3 separate regions of the Homo sapiens genome follow, and regions 1 and 2 are each linked to region 3. The links are contacts of gene promoters, found by promoter capture Hi-C in human tissues and cell types (Jung and others, 2019). All regions are on one chromosome and are shown on one strand. Each heading gives the region's core, a stretch centred on a gene start or on the middle of the fragment in contact. The rest is flanking DNA. Distances are from core to core; before and after follow the strand shown.

What was found. The method cuts DNA at HindIII sites, captures the fragments that hold promoters and counts their contacts. A contact is called where the count stands out against the background at its distance.
Region 1: a fragment that was not itself captured here is called in contact with the fragment with the promoter of ADAMTS16 in region 3 in 4 of the 25 tissues and cell types used here (hippocampus, liver, mesendoderm cells and 1 more).
Region 2: a fragment that was not itself captured here is called in contact with the fragment with the promoter of ADAMTS16 in region 3 in 2 of the 25 tissues and cell types used here (liver and mesendoderm cells).

Annotation. Positions count from the first base shown.
Region 1 is chr5:5,231,389-5,234,906 of GRCh38, forward strand. It overlaps ADAMTS16 (ADAM metallopeptidase with thrombospondin type 1 motif 16), which reads left to right. Exons shown (of 23, transcript NM_139056.4): 12 at 980-1,128. Among named protein-coding and RNA genes, the nearest start is that of ADAMTS16-AS1, 57 kb to the left of the region's middle. The HindIII fragment of the contact is 7,140 bases long and covers 1-3,518 here.
Region 2 is chr5:5,064,086-5,067,814 of GRCh38, forward strand. LINC01020 (long intergenic non-protein coding RNA 1020) reads left to right here. Exons shown (of 7, transcript NR_026994.1): 5 at 2,818-3,019. Among named protein-coding and RNA genes, the nearest start is that of LINC02121, 12 kb to the right of the region's middle. The HindIII fragment of the contact is 4,806 bases long and covers 61-3,729 here.
Region 3 is chr5:5,138,862-5,142,955 of GRCh38, forward strand. It overlaps ADAMTS16 (ADAM metallopeptidase with thrombospondin type 1 motif 16), which reads left to right and starts at 1,469. Exons shown (of 23, transcript NM_139056.4): 1 at 1,469-1,678; 2 at 1,803-1,905. The coding sequence starts at 1,607. ADAMTS16-DT (ADAMTS16 divergent transcript) reads right to left here and starts at 1,193. Exons shown (of 4, transcript NR_109915.1): 1 at 1,095-1,193. It overlaps ADAMTS16-AS1 (ADAMTS16 antisense RNA 1), which reads right to left. Exons shown (of 2, transcript NR_198969.1): 2 at 3,277-3,510. RefSeq lists an enhancer at 675-1,241. The HindIII fragment of the contact is 9,507 bases long and covers 1-4,094 here.

The DNA.
Region 1 (3,518 bases), core at 305-2,804, 93 kb after region 3:
CTCAACTAATAATAGAAGTATTACTTTCCTCCTATGAAAGTAGCCTTTTTTTTTTTCTGTCAGTACAAATCTAGTGGCTCTAATCTTGGAGATAAAAAGGGACTTGACTTCAGGTCTCCCCAGCCCACAGACCAAGCTCTTCTCACTCCACTGGGGCCAGGACAAGAGACAAACATCTTCCTTCTTCCTCGCAACAGACAGTCTGGACAGTCTGGACCTTTAAAATCTTAGAAGTTCATACCAAACCACCCAGGGAACCACCGCTGTTGGACACGGTGTTAAATAGTGCATAGCACTGATGTGTGGTGCAGTGAATTTGCCATGCGGAATTTAGCATGAATTAAAATGAATGAGCACTTGTCTGGAGAAAGGGGAAGAGATAGCATCTCCAGCCTTCGTGGGGACAGATGAAATTCCACATGGATTGCTTCATCACCCTGGAAGCTGCGTGACCTCTAACATGGCATCAGTTAATCGTCCCAAGGCTCCGAGCCCAGGTGCTTTGGGGGGAAAGCACAGACTATGGGCCTGAAATGACAAGGTGTTGAGCCATGTGGAGCCTCCAGCTGTGCTTTCCTACCTGAGACTCTCTCTGTTCTGAACATGAGATGTGAAAAGCACCTTGTTTTCAGGACAGGTCAGAGTTCACCGACTTGGGAGTTGAACAGCCAGACTAAGTATTCAGATAACACTCCTTCATTAAAAGTGTCAAGTTTCCGGGAGATCAGACATTTGAAAATGATTTTTCTATTCATTTTCCCTGTATGTGAATTTATAGGAGGATGCTAGGTTGGGTAAGGAAAAAAAAAACAACATTGAATGTACTGTATTTATATTAGGTGCTGCTTGAGTGTAGGGGGAGGCTAATGTCTGCATAGTTTACAAAATTCCCCACTGCTCAGCCTTATAGCAGTGATGAGATGAACCCATCTATCCATCTGTGTGAGTCAAGTCAACTTATTTATGTTGAAAATTTTAGTGGTGCCGGGGAGGACAGTGTGTGAAATATGGTGATGAAGGCCCCAAGCCCACCCATGGCCACTGGTCGGACTGGTCTTCTTGGTCCCCATGCTCCAGGACCTGCGGAGGGGGAGTATCTCATAGGAGTCGCCTCTGCACCAACCCCAAGTAAGTATGCCTTGACCTCCTTCCTCACAAACGACTGATTTCCATGCCATGAACCCTCCAAGCAGTATGCCTGTGTCTCAGCTCTTTTTTTTTTTTTTTTTTTTTGAGATGGAGTCTCGCTCTGTCACCCAGGCTGGAGTGCAGTGGTGTGATCTTGGCTCACTGCAACCTCCGCCTCCCGGATTCAAGCTATTCTCCTGCCTCAGCCTCCCAAGTAGCTGGGACTATAGGTGCCACCACCACGCCCTCCTAATTTTTGTATTTCTAGTAGAGACACGGTTTTACCATGTTGGTCAGGCTGGTCTCGAACTCCTGACCTTAGGTAATCCACCCGCCGTGACCTCCCAAAGTGCTGGGATTACAGGTATGAGCCATCGCGCCCGGCCTCAGCTCTTAATAGCAAGCCTGTACTGTACATATAATCGTAAGAAGCACTGAATAGGAAAGGTATTTCACTCAAGCATTTCTTAATTACCTCTCTGTGCTATAACTTAAGATGCTTATAACTACCTGACCACAGCAAAAAAATAACAGCAGCAACAGTGATATTCAGGAATTGAATTTTAACCACATTTACTTGACATACCAAGGATCTGCTTAAAACAAATAAATAAATCATAAGAAAAGTGTATAGAATACAAATAAATAAGATCAGTAAGAACAATGGTTTTACGTGGAAAAAAGCAAATTTGGGGGTTTTCCATCAAATATATTTACCTTCACAACAGGAGGTTTAACTGCCAGCTTCTGTAAGAAGTAAGAATGAATGTGAGAAGCATCACCAGTGTGCGGAAGTGAAGAGGCTTTAATTTTTAATTTTTTAAATTTAACTTTTATTTCAAGTTCAGGGGTAGAGTATAGGTTTGTTACATAAGCAAACTTGTGTCACGGGTGTGTGTTGTGCAGATTATTTCATCGCCCAGGTATTAAACCTAGTATTCATTAGTTATTTTTTGCAGTCCTCTCCTTCCTCCCACCCTCCACCTTCCAACAGGCCACAGTGTGTATTGTTTCCCTTTATATGTCCATGTGTTCTCATCATTCAGCTCTCACTTATAAGTGAGAACATGCGGTATTTGGTTTTCTGTCCCTGCGTTAGCTTATTAAGGATAAAGGTCTCCAGGCTCCATCCATGTTCCTGCAAACAACATGATCTCTTCCTTTTTTATGGCTGCATGGTATTCCATGGTGTGTATGTACCACATTTTCATTATCTGGTCTAACATTGATGGGCGTTTAGGTTGACTCCATGTCTTCGCTATTGTGAAGGTGCTGCACAATGAACATTCATGTGCGTGTGTCTTTATGGTAGAATGATTTATATTCCTTTGGATATATACTCAGTAATGGGATTGCTGGGTCAAATGATATTTCTTTTTGTAGGTTTTTGAGTAATTGCCACACTGTCTTCCACAATGGTTGAATTAACTTACACTCCTACCAAAGTGTATAAGTGTTCCTTTTCCTCCATAACCTCGCCAGCACCTGTTATCTTTTAGCATTTTAATAGTAGCCATTCTGACTGGTGTTTTTCACATCTCCCTTTGCCCTTAAGCTTGTTTAAGATGTGTCACTTGGCTTGTTGTTTCAGTCCCATCTTTAAAGCATGAGCTCACCTCACCCCCTACGCCACGCTGTACCCCTTGCGCTGCCCGCATTACCAGTGTGTACATGCAAATTCTCTGGGGTGAGCTGTCAGTGCCAACCAGCAAAGGTGACTGGTTCTTTAGTCTTGGTCTTTGGGTCCTGGCCTTGTCACCAGAAGACTGGTGGTGGAAAGAAATTTTGGTCTTGAAAGCAAAGTCATTGAACTTCCCTCTGAGTTCCACATTCTCTCAAATGTGCTATCCTGGGAAAGTGTGGTCCTCCTCAATCAGCCCCTCCCTGTGCAGGGTGAGGACAGCCCTGCCCACCCTGCCTCACCACTGCAGAGGCACTGGGCCCAGAGAGGAGCAAAGACAGGCCAGCCTGCCCTGCTGCTCTTGTAAAGGATTCACTCAATAGAAAAGGGAGTGCAACCTTACCATTCGTGTGTAAGAATGTGTTCTAGACCACTTAGAAATCCACTTTTCCAGCTGGGCGTGGTGGCTTCTACCTGTAATCCCAGTACTTTGGGAGGTTGAGGTGCACGGACAACAGGGTCAAGAGATCAAGACCATCCTAGCCAACATGGTGAAACCTCGTCTTTACTAAAAATACAAAAATTAGCTGGGTGTGGTGGCGTGTGCCTATAGTCCCAGCTACTCGAGAGGCTGAGGCAGGAGAATCACTTGAACCCAGGAGACAGCGGTTGCAGCGAGCCGAGATCACACTACTACACTCCAGCCTGGGTGACAGAGCGAGACTCCATCTCAAAAAAAAAAAAAAAAAAAGAATCCACTTTTTTCCTA
Region 2 (3,729 bases), core at 1,214-3,713, 74 kb before region 3:
GGAGCAGAGCTCAGACTTTGCCAGGGAACCACAGGCTGAGTGGACAGCAGGTCTGTGAGGTTTCTACAGGTACCATGAGAGAAAGAGAGACAGAGCCAGCATGCCCCCCTCCTTGCCAGGAACATGGCACTAACCCAGATAGCTGCTGCCTCATCCAGAAAGACTTTCTAACCCTTTATGTCTCCACTTTCCAAGTCCTGACCTCCACCCAAAAGGAGGAGCGAGGAAAACCAGGCAGGCTGGCATCCTCCTGCTCCAAATTGTCAAGCTGGTGATGGTCTCTCCATAGGGAAGGATGTATGCCTTGGGTGTTATGAGAAATTGAAACAGGAAACAGTCTCAACTTTCTAAATTGCTAAAAAATGAGCATGTCCTACTGAAACTAATGGAAAAGATGGGAAACCTGTTTGACAAAGTGTTCAAGGGTGAGACGGGAGATTTGAGAAGCTAAGAATGTGTCCAGAGGTGAGGCAAAAGACAGTGAAGTTAATTTCTTGTTTATGAACGGAAGTAAAATGTGCACCATGCTCATTCCCTAATGTGGGGTAATCATTCATAAGCATATCTTCATTTGTCTTCCTTAGGTTCTTAACAGTTGTCCCTTCTGTACAGTGCTATAGTTGTCATGGGTCCTGCCTATGGCATTAGGTTTTAGCACTCACAGTGGAGAACACAGGAGAAGGTCATCCTTGCCCAAAGACTTGCTCCAGCCTGTTTGCTCCACATTTAGCAGGCATAAATGTATAAGAGATCAACTAGGTTGTTGACTAAGGAGGAAAATTCCTATCATAAAGAATAAAACAAGCCGGGCATGCTGGCTCATGCCTGTAATCTCAGCACTATGGGAGGCCAAGGCAGGTGGATCAATTGAGGTAAGGAGTTTGAGACCAGCCTGGCCAACATGGTCAAACCCCGTCTCTACTAAAAATACAAAAATTAGCTGGATGTGGTGGCAGGCGCCTATAATTCCATCTACTCAGGAGGCTGAGGCACGAGAACGCTCGAACCTGGGAGGCGGAGGTTGCAGTGAGATGAGATGGCACCACTGCACTTCAGCCTGGGTGATAGAACAAGACTCAGTCTCAAAAAATAAAAAAATAAATGAAAGAATCAACACTTCGGAGCAAATTATAGATATGGGAGTGGAAGGGGTGTATGTCAGAAATACCTTCAAGGATTCACGTTGAATCATTGACAGTGGTAATACCATTAAGAAAATTGGAAAAAAATCTATAGGGAATCTGTTTGGAGAGGCCCCTGACAAAGCTTTGCTTATGTGTGTTTACTGATGCCACGGACATCCAAGCAGATGATAGGAGCAGAAGGCTAAAGAAGTTAAAGGTCAAGGAGTAATCCAAGGAGAGAAAGAAATGAGCCAACACTTAACCCATGTTTGAAGCTTGGGTGGTGAGAGAGAGAATGCGCTTCTAAGTTTAGGTCCTGTTTGTCATTAAAAAAGCTAGACTCATATTAATGTGTCAAGTGTTATAAATGTTATGAAGAAAATCCTACAGGAACACAAATGAGGAAGTGATTCCTGCTGGGTGGGAGGCAGTCAAAATTTAGCCGACTCTTGAAGGATAGATGACAGATATGAGGATAGACCTCAGGAGGGAGCTTCCAGCAGAAGCTGTGATGTGATGCCAGCTGTAGAGGCAGGAAGCCCAGGGCGGCTCACGCTGCCAGCCTCTGGGGTCTGAGGAGGGCATACAGCAAAGCAACTTGGTGGGGATAGGTGTCACCAGATCAGATGAGAGACAAGGACTTGTATCTGGTACTAATTTTTGTGAAGTAATGGGTCTATCTATGGTGCTAAGACAGGCAGAGGGCTTTGATGAGAACTGAAGGTTTTTTGGAACAAAGCAACAAAGATGATAAGGATGATAGCTGGAGAGATGAAGAAAGAGTCCTCCTCCTCTCCAGAAGGGTTTCTGTGGGAGCTCATGGCAGTGGGAGCTCATGGCAGAGTGATAATAAGAGCACAGCCAGCACCGTGGCAAAGGGGAGGGCAAGGGAGAGGCACACAGGCTCAGGGACAGATCAATTGCCAGGCGAAGGAAACCAGGTGAAACTGAAGACAGCTGTCAGTTGTTGAGCCTAAACCTCAGAATCATGGTGAGGAGCATGTTAAGTAACAACAAGCAAAGACTCGGTCTTGTATTGGACATGAATACAAGGCATTGCTGGGACACCTAGATGCACACCTGGAGCCAGCTGAACGAAGGTAGAGAGAGAAAGTTGAGACTGCACTTGAGACGGGAGAGTTGAAGCCATAGACCTTAGATGGGTGGTTCTCGGACTTCAGCCCACTGCAGCAGCACCTGGAGGACTCCTTACAGCACAGACTGCTGGACCCACACCCAGAGCTTCTCAGCCAGCAGGGCTGGGAGGAAATTGGCACTTCCTGGGCAGGAGATACTGGTGCTGCTAGTTGTCTGGGGACCACACTTTAGAACTACTGCCTTAAAAGTCACTGAGGAGGCAGTGGCTCAAAGTGTGGTCTCTGGACAACTAGCAGCACAAGTTCTTTCTATGGGGAAAGAACTGAAAAGAACTGAAACAAAAACAGGCCCCCGCCCTCAAGAGGGGGGAAAAAAAGTCAGCCCTGTTCCCCTGAGAGTCTGATTTAGTTGGCCTGGGCCCAGATGATGTCATTGGTATTTTTATTGCTCTCCAGGTGGTTCTGACATGCTTCCAGGGTTGAGAAACACTGATTAAGGAGGAGAAAAGAAAGCAATTTATTTAAAAATTTTTAAAAGAAACAGACAAAAAGCCCACTTTTTTTGGCACTGATCTAATTCTCTTTTCTTTCCTCAGGAAAAGCAGTTGAAATACCATTAGTTAACAGATTGCCCAATGAAGTCGATGACAACTGTGATAACAAGTTACTCACTATCACAGCGTCTCCAAGAGATGAACAGTGGATGATGCTTCCAAAGCACAGATGTCCCTCTCCTCCTCAACCTTCTCTCCCCAGAAAGATGTCAACACTGTGGAGATTGTGCTATGAAGATACCTGGTGTGGCATTGCAATAGATGAAATATTAAGGGCAATTCAACAATTTTCTGAACAAATACATGGATTTAACTTGAAGTTGAATTTAATTTGACTTCAAGAAAAATTATATTTCTGGTCCTCCTATGATCATGCACTAAGAATTATTTAACTGCAGATACAATTGTTACCTTTAGAGCTAGAAGGCCTCATTTTAGAATTAAAATGAATGGCAACCCAGACAGATAAAGTCGAGTCGTGATCATCCCACTGCGGAGGCAGAGCCAGTGCTGGCCATCCCCCGACCACCCCAACACACTCCAGGTCTCACACATTTAATCTCTCTCTCTGCCAAGGGAATTTTTTCTTTCCATTTATTCTTAGAAACAACTAAGGGAGTTTTAAGTTAAATACATGCTGCCAAATTGAATCCAAGGAAACTAAAGTCAAATATATTAGCAAACACTTAATGTCCTCTCCATTTTGACATTTCTCCCTCAATTCCTATTTCTGAGTAAAGGCTGTTCAGATGAATAAAAACATATTTTCAGAAATCTGAGCTCATAAGACCTATAGGTCTGTGAAGTCACAGACCGTGCACTGTCAGCAGTCAGCAATTCTGCTGGGTTGAATTGGCATGTTTCAAACTATGTATTTTTGTTAAAAAAAAAAAAAAAGGTGTGTAAATGCATTTACAAAATAGTTTGTACTCTTTCCCAGTAATTCATAGTTGC
Region 3 (4,094 bases), core at 219-2,718:
TTTCACCGTTTTAGCCGGGATGGTCTCGATCTCCTGACCTCGTGATCCGCCCGCCTCGGCCTCCCAAAGTGCTGGGATTACAGGCGTGAGCCACCGCGCCCGGCCTACTGCTCACTCTTTGGGTCCACTCTGCTTTCATGAGCTGTAACACTCACCGTGAAGATCTGCAGCTTCACTCCTGAGCCCAGCGAGACCACGAGCCCACCGGGAAGAACGAACAACTCCAGAGGCTCTGCCTTAAGAGCTGTAACACTCACCGCCTAGGTCTGCAGCTTCAATCCTGAGCCAGCGAGACCACGAACCCACCAGAAGGAAGAAACTCCGAACACATCTGAACATCAGAAGTAACAAACTCCAGACGCACCACCTTAAGAGCTGTACCCACTCACCGCGAGGGTATGCGGCTTCATTCTTGAAGTCAGTGAGACCAAGAACCCACCAATTCCAGACACACTATGGGCTCACAGCGTGTACTCGCGCACACGCAGTCAGGTGTGGATGTACACCCGCGCACACCCAGGCACATGTACACCCGCGCGCTCACACACCCCATCCAGCTACAGCAGAATTCTGGCCAGGCTGTTGACCGCACACCTGCTGCCTCCTTGGCCACCCTGTCCACACAGTAGCCCGATCGACCCCCGTGGCGGCCGAGACCCAGGCCCATCCGCAGCCCTGAGACCTCCCTAGGGATTGCACCCAGCAGCCAGTCACCGGCCTCCGCGGCCTGGCCAGTTGAGGGTGGCCGTGACCGCGGGGCCAGGAGCGCCGCCACATCTCGGGGCAAATGGCGCGGGGGAAGAGTTTCCTCCTCAGCCTCCCCGTCTCCGATCGCTCCGCAAACTCCAGAGCGAGGCACGCGCCTTTAAAGGCAGGTCCGCGGCTCTCCCACGTCCTGGCGCCCGGTTTTCCGCACCCAGTGTCCCCACAGCTGTGCCCGGGCACAGAGGCGCGGCCAGACCGCACTCCGCGGGCTGCAGGTGTCCCGGCCTCTGGCGGCGCCGGTGCGGCCCGGAGGTGGGAGCCCGCGGAGCCACTGCAGTAGCTGGAGTCCCGCCGAGTCCCCAGCCCCAAGGCAGGGCAGGAGCGCGCACCGGCCGGAGGTCCATGCTGAGCATCGCCCGCGCCGGTGCCCGGCAGCCTCTCCAACTGTGTGGTCCCCGCGCGGGCAGAGAGGCACGGACTGCAGGCCGTGGGCAGCTCCATCTTCCCGCGTCCTCCTCCTCTGGCGCTGCCCGCTGTCTCCCGCCTTCCCTCTGCTCCCCGCTCGCCTCCGCCTCAGCGCCCCGCTGACCTCGCCTCCTCCCCTCTGCTCTTTGTCCCTGCACTCTCCCCTCCTCGGTCCTCTGACCCCCCCGCCCTCACCTCCTCCCCTCCTCTCTCCCCTGCCCGCCCCGCGCTCTCCCACCGCTCCCGCCGCCCCCGCCGCCGCGGCTGCCACTCCGCCCCCCGCGCCGCACGGAGCTTCAGTAATAACCCCGGCGCGGCGGCGGAGTCGCTGTGGGGAATCCTCCCGCGCTCTGCCTGGGTCGGGTCCTCCCTGCCCGCTCGCACGCTGCCGGCCGGGGACCCTCCGGTGGCCCCTAGCCCCTCGGAGCGCTCCTGGATGAAGCCCCGCGCGCGCGGATGGCGGGGCTTGGCGGCGCTGTGGATGCTGTTGGCGCAGGTGGCCGAGCAGGTGAGTCCCGGGCGCTCCCACCAGCGCGGAAACCGCGGGTCCGGACAGCTGGAGGCGAGTCCCCCGCGGCTCCTCTCCCGCGGACCCCGCCGTCTCACCGCGATGTCGCCGCTGTTTTCCGCAGGCACCTGCGTGCGCCATGGGACCCGCAGCGGCAGCGCCTGGGAGCCCGAGCGTCCCGCGTCCTCCTCCACCCGCGGAGCGGCCGGGCTGGATGGAAAAGGGCGGTAAGTCCGTGAGGTGGGGGCTTCTAATCCTTGCCATTTAGCAGCTCGTAATCTCCGTGCCGCTGGTTTATTAGGTGCTGTGAATGTTCACGACTCTGTGGAACCCTACTTTTAAGATGCTGTTGTGAACTTTTTTTTTTTTTAACTGTATGAGCGAGCCCCGATGAGTGGATTTCCACCAATATTTACATTTTATTCCCTGGCAAAACGGTTTGCCAGAGTTATTGATATAACATTAGGAAAAAGGTGAGGAAGTTCATTTTATTTTATTCTAAAGAGCTTAGGAAGAATCTAAAGCTATTAATGTATGCATCAAAGCCGTCATAAAGAGCAAATTACTTTCTTTTCCGTCCCCTTCTACATCCTCGGATCCTCCTTCCCGTCCCCAACCTTTCCTCCTTCTCCTCCTTTATAGATTAAAATATTCCTCTATCGTTGCTTATTCTCAGTGAAGGAGATAAAAGAAGCGCTTAGCATCTCAATACCAAAGTTAATGCTCCAACAATCAGGGCGTACTTCAAACATAATAGTGCCTGAAATGGCTAATCAGCTGATTGTGACACCATCAGCAACGTTCATATCCTGGGCCACAATTTGACATGAGGGCAAGTCTTATTCTTTTTCAATGCATGCTTTTACTTCTGCCACTTACAAGTGACATTTGGAAATTTGCTGTCTTATGGAAAGGGATCTCTGTGTCTTCATACTGCATCAGGTAAATGAGAACGCAGGTGTGTCGCACTGGTTGCTAGGTGGTTTTTTAACCTGAACCCATCCAATGACAGTTAATAAATATTATTTTGCATTGTTACCAACAATAAATTGCCGTATCAAATGTTAATATTAATTGACTTTTATAGGAAGAACTAGGTTTCATTCTCTCAATGTATTTCCAGAAGATCTAGAAAATTAAAGTTAACAATTCAGAATTTCTCAGTATAGTTATTTCAATTTGATAAAATAACATAAAGGCAAGCACTTAATATATGCATTAACTTTTGAAATTATTCCCTGCCAAATGAGTACACAAATAGTATATAAGGTGACCGGTGTCAGATTGACGCTCACCATAGTACCTTTTTGAGAACCACCAGGGGGCGCTAGGTGCAAATGATATAAAATGTTAAAAAAAATTGTCACAGTGAATTTACAAGAGAAAGTTAATTATCTGTCCATTTACAGACTATCCTCTTGTGGTTGTCCTTGTCCTTTTTAGGGTTTTGCTTACAATACTAAAAGTTAATTCTTACAATTTTAAAGGTTAATTCTAATTCACCTTTTTAAGTAAGATTTTTGTAAAAAAAAAAAAAAAAATTCTAGTTCCCTAAAACCATGAAAATTCCAGAGGGACTCAGGAGATTTCCACAATAGTTTATGGCATTTATGAAGTTTTATTTAAGATAAAACACATTATAGACACAGAAGAAAGAAGAAGAAAAGCCAGGGCTTCGTGCCTAAGTGTGCTTTTCTCCTAAAGTGATTCAATCTGCTTCAGCATCCTCTCTGGGAGTGGGGTGCCAGTGTGCTGCTCTGAACACCTGGCACCACAGTTGTTGTCACAACGTATCGTCTCCATGACAACCACTTATCTGGCTTGGTAAGAACCTGAAGGGGAAGAGGCAAACCCTTCTTAGTGAAGTTCTAGCCCAGTGGACACAGCACACACCCTCCTCCCCTACCTTCTATGCACTTTAGCTCCTTAATTATAAATGGCTAATGTGTGAGTCTGGACATCCACAACAAGCTTTTATGCCACCAGAGAAAAGATCCTCCTCAACAGTGTTGCCTGTTTCCCTCTGACCTGGAGCAGAAGAGCTAGAAGACACTTGGTGACTGCTGGGGTCAACTTACTGTTGCCTGTCTAGGTATCCATTAGACAAGTTGGTTCTGAAATAACTAATTGTAGCCATACATTTTGTTTAAAGTAGCGCATGACTCAAACTATTATTGCAAATCATTCTTGGTGGCTGAAGTAATTACAAAATAGCAAAGAGAACAAAGCTGGAGGTGTCACACACTACCTACCTGACTTCAAACTATGCTACAAGGCTACAGTAACCAAAAAAGCATGGTACTGGTACCAAAACAGATATATAGATCAATAGAACAGAACAGAGACCTCAGAAATAACACCACGCATCTACAACCACCTGATCTTTGGCACATCTGACAAAAACAAGCAATGGGGA